5 separate regions of the Homo sapiens genome follow, and all the other regions are linked to region 4. Evidence: promoter capture Hi-C in 16 types of primary human blood cells and fetal thymus (Javierre and others, 2016). All regions are on one chromosome and are shown on one strand. Each heading gives the region's core, a stretch centred on a gene start or on the middle of the fragment in contact. The rest is flanking DNA. Distances are from core to core; before and after follow the strand shown. Region 1 has its middle 68 kb from the start of FASLG. Region 2 has its middle 110 kb from the start of FASLG. Region 3 has its middle 130 kb from the start of FASLG. Region 4 holds the start of TNFSF4 (TNF superfamily member 4). Region 5 has its middle 44 kb from the start of FASLG.

Evidence for each region. Contacts are between HindIII fragments. The CHiCAGO score rates a contact against its expected background, and 5 or more counts as called.
Region 1: a contact is called between a fragment that was not itself captured here and the fragment with the promoter of TNFSF4 in region 4, in 2 of 17 cell types (M0 macrophages and monocytes). The highest score is 8.6, in M0 macrophages.
Region 2: a fragment that was not itself captured here is called in contact with the fragment with the promoter of TNFSF4 in region 4 in 14 of 17 cell types (M0 macrophages, M2 macrophages, M1 macrophages and 11 more); the score reaches 17.0 in M0 macrophages.
Region 3: a contact is called between a fragment that was not itself captured here and the fragment with the promoter of TNFSF4 in region 4, in 3 of 17 cell types (naive B cells, M2 macrophages and activated CD4 T cells). The highest score is 9.1, in naive B cells.
Region 5: a contact is called between a fragment that was not itself captured here and the fragment with the promoter of TNFSF4 in region 4, in 1 of 17 cell types (monocytes). The highest score is 5.3, in monocytes.

What each region holds. Positions count from the first base shown.
Region 1 is chr1:172,725,750-172,728,549 of GRCh38, reverse strand. No RefSeq gene overlaps it. Among named protein-coding and RNA genes, the nearest start is that of FASLG, 68 kb to the right of the region's middle. RefSeq lists a silencer at 226-275. The HindIII fragment of the contact is 1,512 bases long and covers 644-2,155 here.
Region 2 is chr1:172,764,947-172,767,757 of GRCh38, reverse strand. No RefSeq gene overlaps it. Among named protein-coding and RNA genes, the nearest start is that of FASLG, 110 kb to the right of the region's middle. The HindIII fragment of the contact is 856 bases long and covers 1,105-1,960 here.
Region 3 is chr1:172,787,189-172,789,888 of GRCh38, reverse strand. No RefSeq gene overlaps it. Among named protein-coding and RNA genes, the nearest start is that of FASLG, 130 kb to the right of the region's middle. The HindIII fragment of the contact is 3,168 bases long and covers 1-2,700 here.
Region 4 is chr1:173,205,845-173,208,599 of GRCh38, reverse strand. It overlaps TNFSF4 (TNF superfamily member 4), which reads left to right and starts at 1,269. Exons shown (of 3, transcript NM_003326.5): 1 at 1,269-1,576. The coding sequence starts at 1,424. RefSeq lists an enhancer at 1,278-1,337. The HindIII fragment of the contact is 1,344 bases long and covers 534-1,877 here.
Region 5 is chr1:172,702,236-172,704,935 of GRCh38, reverse strand. No RefSeq gene overlaps it. Among named protein-coding and RNA genes, the nearest start is that of FASLG, 44 kb to the right of the region's middle. The HindIII fragment of the contact is 3,439 bases long and covers 1-2,700 here.

The DNA of each region.
Region 1 (2,800 bases), core at 150-2,649, 480 kb after region 4:
GATGAGATTTTTTTTCTTCCCCCCTTGAGGGTGTGACTGTTGCATATATGGGGTAGAGTCCTTTGGTTTTGTTTCTATGTGTTTTTAGGGAGCCAAGGCTCTATATGAATTCTTTGGTCATAGATAGTCTTAGTGTAGTGGTTTTCACAAATGCTAGTTGCTTGTAGATTGTAGTATTTGTGTGCTGTGCATGTGGTCAAGCTCACTACCTCCTATAGAAATGGGGATGTAGAAGTTTTGAGAGGCTTGTTTCCCAGCACTGTGCCCTTGTGTCAGCAGGAATCATATTGGGGTTGTGCAGTTCACCCTACAGACCAGCAGGTGACACTTGCTGGTAAGAGCCAATTGAGTGCTATACACTGATGTCAGCAGAAGTTGTGATGGACCATGCAATTTGACCTCCTGGCCAGTAGGTGGTGCTTGCAGGCAAAAGGCAGTTGCAGTGATGGCAGTGGAATTTTTACTTGGACTTTATTGATGGGGGAATGTACCAGGGTGTTCCTGGTGAGGGGCAGAGTGTGGAGCTCTCAGGGGTTCTCTCCCATGCTCTGCTGCCAAGGTGGCTGAAGAGGGGAAAGTTGAGCAAGGCGGTGTTAGGTGAGCCCACAGTCAAGCTCCCCTGGCTGGATGCAAGCACCAAGCTTGGTGAGGTTCTATGGGTAGCTCTCAGGCCTCTGGGACAACCCTCCAGGGAGGGGCAGAGGTCCTTCGCCTGCAACACAGGGCACTCTCAAGGGAAGAGAGGCGCCCAGGGTCTTCAGAGCAGCAGGCAGCTGTCAGGCCCACTCACCTCCCACAACCCCAAGAGCAACAGGCCTAACCCATTAGGTTAGTTTCAACCCATCCATGCCAAGATCACCAAGCTATTCCATGTATTCTAGACCACGAGACACCCTGCAGCAGAAATCGCTATCAGGCCACACCCTTCCCACCAGCGTTGTGAAGAGAGGGGTGCCCAGCTCCTGCACCACCACATGAACCTGACACACTCTTCTCTGTGTTTTAACAGAGGAGATCCTCCACTGGAGATCAGGCCGTAGATCTTATCTCCATACTTCTGGGTGGTGTGCTTGAGGCCTAGAAAATTGGAACCAGGCCAACTTAATTACCCTCTGTCTCCTTGGGGTCTAGCACCAACTATGATGGGGGAGTAAAGTGCTCCCAGGCTGCCACCAACAAACCACTCAGGCGGAGCAGTAAAGGCTATACTGTGGGTCTCCTCCCAGCTCCTCCTGGGAATGGCCAGGCAGTCTTAGGAGGGACCAGCAGGGATGGAGGCATGTGGTTCGGATGCATCTTAGTCCTGTGGCAATGGCATTGGGGCTTGTCTTGGGTGCATGAGTGCCTGACCTCCACTCTCTCCTGGCCTGGCAGACAACAGGAGCTGCAACTTCTTAGGACAGGATGCAAAGCCTTGGAAGGTGGGCACCCAGAGTTGCATTTTGCTGCAGCTGTGAAAAAAAGATCTTTAGCATGCAGTTTCAAGCAGTCCCTTGGTGTGTTCTCTAGGCAGCTCCCCCTGCCAGTCTGTAGAGGTCATAGGAACTCTTGTAGCTAGGAGCTCAGAGGTCCACAGCAGGAATGAGGTGTCCCAGGGTTCCTTTACTCACTGCTTCCTTGGGTGTGACCTGGGTCTAGGGGTCAGTCCTGATGCCAAGCAGGCAGCCCTGTTTCCTCTTTCTTCAACCACGAGGTCTTCTGTTGCTTCTCTATTAAATTTCAGTGTTTTCTCTCAAAAGTTCTGTTCGAAGTGTGAAGGTTTACTCAATATTTTGGTTTTTCTCCATGGAAGAGGTGCATCCCAGCCACATTTACTCAGCTATGTTTAATTCTTCCAGTTTTTACATAATTCTCAACAAATTGCAATGTCAGTGAGAACCTAATATAAACTACAAGTAAGCATTTAATCTACTTGTAGTTATAAGCCACTTTACTATTTAGTATACTTCTGCCGTTTTGACATTAGTTGTCAGATGACATGCAGAGGAGCTCCCAGAAATGAATTTTATTAACTGTGTAAATAAGCTGTGAACTAAAGAGAACCCTCAGAGAGTTACAGAGCTGAAGCACATCATGATGATCATCTGTTTCAAATGCTTCAATGTACAGACAGAAAACTGAAGGCTGAGAAGGAAAATTACTGGTTTGCTAAGCTTACATGAGACTTACACATTGAGGGAACCAGACCTTTAGAAATCAAGTCAAACAGAGAAGCAATTGTAACTGTTAACAGCTCATATTGAAATCTCAGGATAGCTTCAATTAAATTGATCGAGGCACTTAAAAAATCATGAGTCTTAATTTTTGGTTCTAAAGTCAAGTCACCAACAATATTTAATAACTGACTCTATTCATTATCATAAATATAAATCAGACAAAATCACCCAGAACTTAAACACTAAAATGATCAAAAGTAAGGTTTTGTGTTACCCATCTTCTTCCACTTTAACTTGTTATTGCATTTGTAATACATATTACAGCATGGGGAGGAGAGGTGTCTGATCTGTGCTTGACACAACTGGGGAATATACACACATATCTACTGATACAATTTTATACCAGCAGACATGTTCAGCTCTAAATTCAAAGCAAGGCTGGTGTACAGCTATCTTTCCTTAATTGTCATAAGGTATTCATATATGTGTACAGTGACGGCAAAAGAAGTTTTGTTCTGCAGACTATTTTTAAAAGGTTTTTAAAAAGTTTTTCTAAATAGTTAAAATATATTTTAAAAATATATGAGTCACATTTTTATGGAATCCAGGAAATATTTTCACTGAACTCTTCTTTGGGATATAGT
Region 2 (2,811 bases), core at 283-2,782, 440 kb after region 4:
TAGGGGTGTGCATCAGAGAACGCAAGTGCTCTCCAGAAACTAGAACAACTCTGGACCAACAGCTAACAAGGAAATAAATCATTCAGTCCTACAATGGCATGGAACTGAATCTGGCCAAAATCTTGAGTGAGCCTGGAAGTCAGCTCATCCCCAGATGCTGGCATCTTTATTTCAACCTTGTGAGATTCAAAGCAGTTTCAGGTGCTGTGCCTGAACCTCTGAGCTACAGAACTGTGAGATAATAAATGGATGCTGTTTTCTGCTGCTAAATTTGAGGTAATTGGTACAGCATCAATAGAAAACTAATACAGCCCAAGAAAGTTATATCATGAGGCTAACGTAAGGAGCATCTGACTAAGAAAGGAGCAGAGAGTGGCTGAGTATCCCTTTTTCACAAGGTTATTTGAGGAGCACTAAGTTTGGGGTTATTTAACACTCTTGTCTTTCCATTAATATATTTGCCTATCTCCAGACTCCGTGCTAGGGAAGGATATATTTCCAAAGAATTTAAATTAAGCAAGGTCTCACCAGCAACCTAATCTGTACCTTTTAAAAATAATAGGATAAGCTGGGTGCAGTGGCTCATGCCTGTAATCCCAGAACTTTAGGGGGCTGAAGCAGGAGGATCACTTAAGCTCAGGAATTCAGCGCCAACCTGAGCAACATAGTAAGACCTCCTCTCTAGTAGAAATTTTAAAAATTAGCTAGGTGTGGTGGCACACACTTATGTCCTAGTTACTAGGGAGTCTGAGGCAGGAGCATTACTTGAGCCCAGGAGATTAGGGGTACAGTGAGCCATGATTGTGCTACTCCTCTCCAACCTGGGTGACACAGCAAGCCTGTCTCAAAAAACAAATAAATAAATAAATAATCAAATAAAAATAATTGGTGACTTTCAAGACATAAAGTAAGAAGAGTGTCCTTTGAGGGTTGTGATAGATGGCATTACTATTCTTCCAAATATTCCAGTTCCCCTTTCTGTGATGTCCTTCCCTGTAGGAGGATTATGTATTATCCTCCATGACATCAGCTTTAGCCATGTGATTTGCTTTGGTTCATTACATGCAAGCAGAAGTGATGTTTTTTCACTTACGAGCAGAAGCTTTAAAACACAGCATGTGATCACTAGGCTCTATTTCCCTCTCCCATGAGCCCAGCAACACCACAGTTAGAGGCCACGCCGTCATCCTGGGTCCCACAGTGAACAAGGCATGGACCAGAGCCTCAGTCGGTCAGTGATGGACATGTAACTTGAGCAGGAAATAAACCTGTATATCCCACTTGGATTTGGGGGTCATTAGTTACCACAGCATAACTTAGCCAAGCTGACTGATATAAGTCCTATAACTTGCCAACCTCTTTAATGACTGGGAGTCATTAAACAAGGCCCCCTAAAGCAAACTGTTTCAGTTCAAGTGGATATATGTAAAAGGCTCTTCTTGGTTATGCAGATAAGTTGAGTGACATTATCGAGGGAGGGCAAAATGCCTTGAGTAATACCTATATTGGTTAAAGAAGCATAGGCTCTGTCACAACAACGGGTAGATTCCCAAATCTCAGAAACTCACAAAATTAAAATTTCTCATGTAGACGAGCTCCAATGCAGGTTAATCACTCTTCTGATGGCTCCCCTCTAAGTAGTGATTTAAGGCTCATGCTGTTCCCAACTTGCAATGCAACCATTTTGGAATCCTTATTTCCAAACACATAGTTAAAGAGCTCATGGAAGATCTCACAGAAAAGTTTTTATAGCAAGGCCCAGGAAAGGTAAGGCCCATATTCTCTAGGCAGATTTCATCACAGATTCCACCTAGTTGAAAGGAGGACTGGAAAATGAAATCTTCCTATGTGACCAGGAAGAAAATAAAATGGTTCCATGAACAGTTACATTTTATCTGCTATAGTAAGGTAGTATTTTTACAGGAAAAAAGATATAAAACATGTTGAATTTTGAGAAGCTTTAAAAAGGCTGTGTTGCCACTTGGATGATAATGGTTAACAGGGAAGAACATTGAATATTGGCTCTTTGAGTAATAGTTATTGGAATCCAACCAGACCTCAGTATTGGTGAGCTTGTGCCTCTGGATGTGTCTGTGTATGTTAACCAAAAGTGCTTTCTGCTAAAGCCATATCCATACGGACTGAGTGTAGCCACTTCAGAAATGGAGGTGTCTGGACAACCCAGGGCCATGCTGCTTCAGTGGACAAGCAGCACTGGAGGGACATACCTGACTTGTCTTCAGCAGCAACCCCAAGTGGTGATGGGCAACATACTGTTCAAAGCCCAGTTCTCCCTATACCTAGCATTAGAAAAGGACTGATCTCTCTTTGGGTCAAATAAACCCTGGAAGGAATTCTTAGGGGAATTTAAGAGGGGGAGCTTCAAAAGCTTCTTTTCACTTACAAGAAGAAACTTTAAGAGACAGCATGTGATCACTAGGCCCTACTTCCTTCTCCCATGAGCCCAGCAGCATCCCGGTTAGAGGCCACACCAGCATCCTGGGTCCCACAATGAAGATGACATTGACCAGAGCCTCAACTGGTCAATGATGGACATGTAACTTGAGCAAGAAACAAACCTGTATATCCCACTTGGATTTGGGGGTCATTAGTTACCACAGCATTTTCAAAAGAAAATGTGTTGCAATTCAAGAAAATAATTTGTAAACTAAAAGATGTCTCATATTTGAATAACAAATTTTTTGAGCAATTCATTCTGGTTTACTAAAGAGAGATATAGTATAAAGATAATAGAGGAGTGGAATAAGAGCATCAAAATAAAAGAAATCTAAGGGAGAGAAGTAAGCAATT
Region 3 (2,700 bases), core at 106-2,605, 420 kb after region 4:
TGTGAGAAGAGTGAGCATGTGCTAGGTCAGTATTTGGTCCTCTTCTCCCTCACCTCCTTGGTTTTGTAGCAGATTTCTCTGATCTTCTCCTGCTCCTGATGTGGGGGATAGAAAGGTAAAAGGTAAGGGAGAGTTGAGAAGAAAATATTTTCCCAAGTGCATAAATAATCAGTTGAGGGTCACCATTCTGTTCCCTAGGAAAGATGAGGGTTTTTTCAGCTTTTCTTTTTAATTAAGGAGGAAAGAGTCAACCATGTAAGATGAGACAATGAAGTGTGGTATGTGTATGTATGTGTGCATATATTAAAGAAGTTTCATTTTCTATGTGCCAGACACTGCATCAAGAATTTTGTGTATATAATCTAATTTATTCCTCAAGATCAACTATGAGGTAAATATTACTATTATTCCAACTTACACATGGAGAAAATGATTCTTGGAAAAATTAAATAGGCAAGGTGGCAGAGCAAGATGGCACAACACCAATTTAACAACTGTCTACACATTAAAAAAAGCATCTTCATAAGAACTAGAAATCAGGCGAGCATTCACAGTACTTGGTTTTAACTTCACATTGCTGAAGACGTAGGAAAAACAGTCTTGAATTGCGGACACTACCCCTTCCCCATTCCCCAGCAGCAATGGCAAAGTGCAGACAACATTTCTGTGCTCTGGGGAGAGGGAGATCACAGCAATTGTGAGGCATTGAACTCAGTGCTGCCCTATTATAACAGAAAACAAAACCAGACCAAACTCAGCTGATGCCTGCCCATGGGGGGAGCATTTAAACCAGCCCTGGAGCTCTTGAAAGGCAGTCTAGGCCACAAGGACTGCAATTCTTTGGCAAGTCCTAGTGCTGAACTGGTCCCAGAAACAATGGACTGGGGGACCACAGGACCTACTGAGAAACCAACTGGGGCAGCTAAGGGAGTGCAGGCATCTCTCCTTCCCTTACCACAGGCTGCATAGCTCTTGGCTCCAAAAAAAGACCCCTTCCCTCCAGTTGAGGAGAGGAAAGGGAAGAATAGAGAGGACTTTGTCCTACATCTTGGATACCAGCTCAACCACAGCAGGATAGGGCACTGGTCAGAGTCATGAGGCCCTCTTTCCAGACAACATTTCTAGATACACCCAGGGCCAGAAGGGAACTGACTGCCTTGAAGGAAAGAACTCAGTCCTGTCAGTATTCATCACTTGCTAACTGAAGAGTCCTTGGGCCCTGAATAACCAGCAGTGATACCCAGGTACTACACTGAGGGCCTTGGATGAGACTTGGAGACTTACTGGTGTTGGGTGAGACTCAGCACATTCCCAGCTGTGGTAGCTATGGGGCAAGATTCCTTCCACTCGAGAAAGGCAGAGGGAAAAATAAAGAGGACTTTCTCTTGCACCTTATGTACCAGCTCAGTCACAGGGGTTTAGAGCACCAAGCAGGCTTATGGAGACCCCAATTCTGGTACTTGGCTTTTTGATAGCATTTCTGGACATTCCCTGAGCCAGAGGGGAGCCCACTGCTCTGAAGGGTGAGTCTCAGATTAGGCAGCATTCACTGCAAGCTGAATGAAGAGCCCTCAGGCCATAAAAGAACATCAGCTATACTCCGGCAGTACTCCTCATGGGTTTCTGGTGGCAGTGGCCATGGGGTGAGGCTCCTCTGCCTTTGGAAAGGTGAGGTAAGAGTAGAAAGGACTGCATCTTGTGGTTTGAGTGACAGCTCAGTGACAGTAAAATAGAACACCAAGTAGACTTCTAAGGTTTTTAACTCTAGTCCCTGACTCTCAGATGGCACCTCTGGACCTACCTGGGGCCTGGGGAAACTTGCCACTCTGAAGAGAAGGACACAGGTCTAGCTAGCTTTGCCACCTACTGATTGTAGAGCCCCAGGGCCTTGAGTGAACATAAGACATAGCCATGGAGTGGTTATAGCAGGTCTTGGGTGAGACCCAGTGCTGTTTGGTTTCAAGCCTGACCCAGTGCAGTCCTGGTGGTGGTGGCCACAGAGGTGCCTGTGTCAGTCCACTCCAGCTCCAGGTGGCTCAGAACAGAGAGAAAGACTTCTTACATTTGAGAGAAAGTAAAAAAACAAGAGAACAAGAATCTATGCCTAGTAATCCAGAAAATTCTTCCAGATCTTGTCTGGAAGAGCCATCTTCCAGAAAGAAAGACCATCAAGGTGTTACCTCTATGAGTCTGCAAGAACCACAGCATTACTGGGCTTGGCATGCCCTCTAAAGCAGATACAGCTTAGATCACAACACCAAGTTTCTTTGAATATATGGAAAGCCTTCTCATGAAGCCCAGGTAGAAACAAGCCCAGACTGAGAAGACTACAATGAATACATAACTCTTCAATGCTCAGACACCGAAGAACATCTATAAGCATCAACACAATCCAGGAAGACATGACCTAACCAAATGAACTAATTAAGGCACCAGGAACCAATTCTGGAAAAAAAAAAAACCAGAAATATGTAACCTTTCAGACGGAGAATTCCAAATAGCTGTGTTGAAGAAACTCAAAAGAAATTCAAGATAATACAGAGAAGGAATTCAGAATTATATCAGATAAATTGAACAAAGAAATTGAAATAATTTGAAAGAATCAAGCACAAATTCTGGAGCTAAAAAATGCAACTGGAATACTAAAGAAGGCATCAGAGCTTTTTAATAGCAGAATTGATAAAGCAGAAGAAAGAATTA
Region 4 (2,755 bases), core at 20-2,519:
CAGATAAAACTTAAATTTCTCAACACCAGTATGTTCTCCTAATGCAAGGCATAATTATTGTAGTGAAGGTATTAATTCATATTTTAATTGATTAATACTGTAGTCATAAATGTACTTTACATTTCCCACAAACTTTCTCTTTTAAGTATGCCTCATTTCCATTTTTTCTGTGAAGTGGTATAACAACTCATACTGTCAATATCCAAAATATTTCTCCCTCCTTTCTTTACATATCTGCTGGGTGCCTCATGGGGAGCTGAGAGAGACATACTTGGCCACAAAGAGAGACAATTCCGTCTTAAACAGCTTTTCCCCAGCATCCTTATGTTGTCCAGTACAGTGCCAGGCTCATGTGATGTACTCAGTAAATATTTGCCCATTTGAACTTTACATTATAAGTAATTTTATCATTTATTTCATTTCATTGTTTATTTTAGTGGTAAAGGGTACCTGGTGTCTATTGATAGAATACTCTTACTTTCCAAGTTCTGAGGCCAGCCACGACCTCAAAGAAAGAAATAATCTTCAAAGCTTATTTACATCTATTCATTTGTTCATTCATGGAAAAATTATGTACGGGAAAAATGTGAAGTGGAAGGAAAGGAGACAAGGATACCCTTCTGCTTCTTTTCTGGTATGCAGAAAATTAATCATATAATTGTTTATTGAATTTGCCTCAAAGGGTTAAATGAGAGAAAGATTGCAAGTCCATCTAACACAGTGTCTGACACATAGTAAATGCTTCCAAAAGGTAGTTTATTTTTATGCAATAGACTACAACCAAGGATCTCTCCTTTACTTCTGCATGACCCAGTGTCCTATTTTCTTGTTTTGTCTTTTTCATTCAAGAATGATCTGTGTGTGCTTTCTTTCTGAATCTGTGAGAGGGGTTCAATGTTTAGTTACATAGTAAAGTGCAGATAAGAACCTTGGGCCAGCATTTCCCCTAAATCTTTTCTATGATTTAAGACACCTTGGGGAAGGGATATATGAGCTGCTACATTAACGGATGATGATTTTTATCTTTACCAAGTGACCCACAATTTGTTACTGGTGCAATAAGTTAAGAAAATAGCATACTTTTATGACTGTCATTTCACAGTCACTCAAATCAGAACTGGAATGTCACAAAAACAACTCCCTGTTAGCCCAGAGGAAAAAAAAAAAGAAAGAAAGTAAAGGGGAAATTCAGATTAGTCACAAAGAAGTTCCCCCGCCTGCCTGCAAAAGTTGCAGCGTTAAAACTGAGAGAGTCCGCTTTGCTCTTTCAATCGCCTTTTATCTCTGGCCCTGGGACCTTTGCCTATTTTCTGATTGATAGGCTTTGTTTTGTCTTTACCTCCTTCTTTCTGGGGAAAACTTCAGTTTTATCGCACGTTCCCCTTTTCCATATCTTCATCTTCCCTCTACCCAGATTGTGAAGATGGAAAGGGTCCAACCCCTGGAAGAGAATGTGGGAAATGCAGCCAGGCCAAGATTCGAGAGGAACAAGCTATTGCTGGTGGCCTCTGTAATTCAGGGACTGGGGCTGCTCCTGTGCTTCACCTACATCTGCCTGCACTTCTCTGCTCTTCAGGTAAGATGCACCACTGGGCGCTGTTTTCCCACCAGCTCATGCTGATGGCAGCTGCAACAGCTGCAAACAGTCGCTTGGAAATAATCTTATGCCAAAAGTGTTGAGTTTTTTTTCCCTCTCCCCACAGCAATCGTAAAGTGTGGTTAAACGCCCTTCTGTCTCTCCTTTCCTTCCTTCTTTTCAGCAGTGGCAGTGGTAGGGCAGAGTGGAGGTAGGGCAGAGGCACAGCTTCTAGATCTTTTTCTTTTTCTTTGCAATGCAAGATTCCTTGTATCCCTTTATAAGCTGTCACTTTGAAGCTTTGAGTCACTGATATACCTGGTCTACCCATTGTGATAGTAATGTGTTTGATCAGGCAATTAATATTAAAAGGAAATAGGAAAGAGACCAGTTCCACTTTCCCATAATATTCATATACCCTATAGACCTGCAAGGTGATTTTCTTTGTAAAGAATGCTGAAGGTATCAATATTAATAGCGGAGCAATGTGTGCGTGCATGTGTGTGTGCCTATGTGCTCACTCATTCACCCCAATGATTTAATCAGATATTGTTTCTCACAATCTATCTCTTCCAGTCATAATTTAAAGACATCATTTCACCTTTTCCCTACCTTATTAAATACATCATGTAGTAGGAGATTATCCTTCTAGTATTTTCCCCATATAGTTAAAATATTTCCATTTTTCTTTCACTTTATTCTTGTTCCACACTTCTCTCTTTTGCATTATTTTTTCTTATTCAGTAGTTCAGATATACAAACATTATTAGGTATTTAAGGATGTTCTTCACTGCAGAAGATGCCACTGGAGAAAAATAAATCTATACTCTCTTCGTGTTCCTTTGTTGAGCTAGTCTGATAATCTTGTTTTCTAGGTGGTTGCTTTGGGTTAGAAATGTTTCTCCCTGATAAAGTTCAGGTAATACAAACTGATTTCTGATGGTCTTGTCTGAGATTAAGCACCTCCAATGAAACCAGAATGAGATGAGCAGTCTTGGCAAATGCCTGGGCTTGTTTCTGCCTACAGGAAATAGGGTTTTCAGTGCATGGAGGCTGGTAAGAGTGTGTGTGGTTATGATCACTGTACCACAGACAGTGCTTGTGTCTCCAAATTCCAGAAGTGTAGCTAGTGTCATGCTCAGGTCTGCAGAACAGTGAGCACAACAACACATTGATCCT
Region 5 (2,700 bases), core at 32-2,531, 500 kb after region 4:
AAGAGGGGGCTCATAGGAAAGCAGTTTTCTCTTCTTTTGTTCTAGGAGGAAAGAGACATTTGGCTATGTAGAAGGAGGGCTCAGAAAGGTAACTTATGAGGAGAATGAAAGCTCTGGAACTAGAGAATTTTTTTTGACAACTGGCTCATCCTAACCACAGATAAGCAGAGGCTGGTTTCCTGACATGAAGGCCTGGAAGGGAACTAGGAGTGCACTTGGAAGAAGCCAGAGTCAGGGACAGGAAGGAATCACTAAGAGAGTGCTATTGAGATGGGGAAGTGACAATGGAAGGAGACAAAGCCAGGGCCTTCTCTTTGTGATTTTTATTTTACACATTGTTTTCATTTTCCTTTCCTTCCCTCCCCCTTCCCCCAACACCAGCTTATTCCTGCAAACCCTCTGAGGAAACAAGTATTTTGCCTATGAATTGCCTGGGTGGGTCTGAGCTGGATAATCTAGCAAGCTCCTTCAATGTTCCTTCTCTTCATACAAGGTATAAAAGCTACAGAAGTTGAAAAGTGGTGTATGTATTGAATATGTCATTGATATATTAATTTATAAGGGCATTTATACATTTGACTGACCTACAAAAATTCCTTTCTTCTATATACAGGTTAAGTCAATAAGACACAGCCAAAGACCAAGGAGCATTTTCTTAAAAGTCCTGGCAGACAGCAGGCTGTTGATCCCTCTGACCTCTCTATCCGAGTGGTGTGCCACATCCTCTTCCTCTCTCTGCCCATCTCTGGGTGTGCCATCTCTATAAGTACCACCCACAGTGGGGAAGAGGTGAGGGTGTCTGCCTTTAAAGAATGGACAATTTCTTAGTTTTGTTTCTTCTTAGTGACTTAAAACTAAAGGTTCATTGAGTTGGGAAGTCACAACTATTGACTAGAAGGAGACCTTAAAAGGATTTATTGCCCTCATATGTTGTTTTTCCCACTCTTCCCCTATTCATGAAACATCTGCTCAGCACAGTGGCAGAAGGAGTGATTTACTGGGCCTTGCCCACACCAAGAGCATTACTGTTTATTGCTTTTGTTCACATCTGTCTGCTGGGTCATTCCCACCTATCTCTCAAGGGATATAGGTCCAGCTCTTGACCCACATCCTTTCTAGAAATGGTTTTACCATCTTGTTCCACAATGAATCCCCCGACTCCTATAATTCAGACCAGAGCTGATCTGGAACGTTTACTTGACATTTGTCATGCCCAGAACTGCCATGGTTCTAATCTTTTTGTGATCATCTAAACATTTACATAGAAGGCCTGTCCTACCAACTTGACTGTAATCTCTTTAAAGACTGAAGGGTGCAACACCCAGCCCAGGGCTGAGCATTCCTAATAAGGACCTTCAAAAATATTTAGAAGTATTAGTTTTCTGCTAATAAATAAATTTCTAATTTCCATCCTCCACTTTATTCTTCATCTTGCCTAATTGAATTGATTTCTTTTCCACTTCTCTTTCAAATTTCTTTATGTGTTTGGCTCTTTTCCCCTTAATAATATGCTATATTTTACTATAAAAGTCCTCAAGTGAGTCTGTATCTGCTCTCTCCAGTTTTTCTTCTCTTATTCTTTCTTACACTCCTTCAAATAAGATGTTTGTCCTCAAAGTCACACCAAACCTGCTCTTATCAAAGTCACCAATGACCCCTACTTTGTTGGCTCAATTCTCAGCATTTCTGAGCACTCGTCATACTTGATCTGTAAAAATCATTTGACATAGTAGACCATTCCCTACTCCTTCATACACTTTCTCCACCTGATTTCTAGGAGCCCACACTCTGGTTTTCCTCCTACCCTGTGGGTCACTTCTTTTCCCTCTCCTTTACTGGTTTCTCCTCTTCTTTCTAATCTCTTTATCCTGGTGTATGCCAAGACTCAGTCCTTGTTCCTCTGTTTTTCTCTGTCAACATTCACTTATCCAGTCTCATGACTTTCAATAGTGTTATATTCCATGACTCTCAAATTTCTACATCCAGCCCAAACCTCTCTCTTGAACTTTAGAATCATATCCAGAACTGCCTACTTTATATTTTTGAATATAAAGTGTTGAAATATAAAGTGTTGGAAACACAAGTCCCTTTAGGTTCAACTTATCCAAAACAGAACTTTTCCTCTTCTCTCTCACACGTGAACTCCTGATCTTCCCTGTCTTCATCTTGGTTAATTGTTACTTCATCCCTCCAGTCACTCAGGTCAAAAATAACCTGTGTGTGTCTGAGCTGGGTATCATCAAACCCACCCAGCATGCCTGACCTCTTTCTCTCTCACAACCCACATCCTATCAGTCAGTAAATCCTGTCACCTCTTGCCTTGAAAATATTTCCAGGATCTGACCACTTCTCACTACCTCTGCTGCTCCCACCCTGGCCCTTTTCACCCTCACCTATCTCTTGGATTGTTGCCACAGCTCTTTCCTGGTCTCCTTGCCTTTACCGTTGCCCATCCATAGTCTCTTCACAACGCAGAAGTCAGACCCTCTTAAAGCATAAGTCAGATCATATCACTCCCCTAAAGAGGATCCCTACCTCACTCAGAGTAAAACCCAAAGCCCTTACAGTGCCCAGTAAGGACGTGCCTGAATAACCCTTCACCTACCTCCTTAATTCTCTGACCTCACTTCATATGACTCTCCTCATCCCCCACTCCACTCCAGACAAACTGACCTCCTTGTGCTGCCTGGAACATGCCAG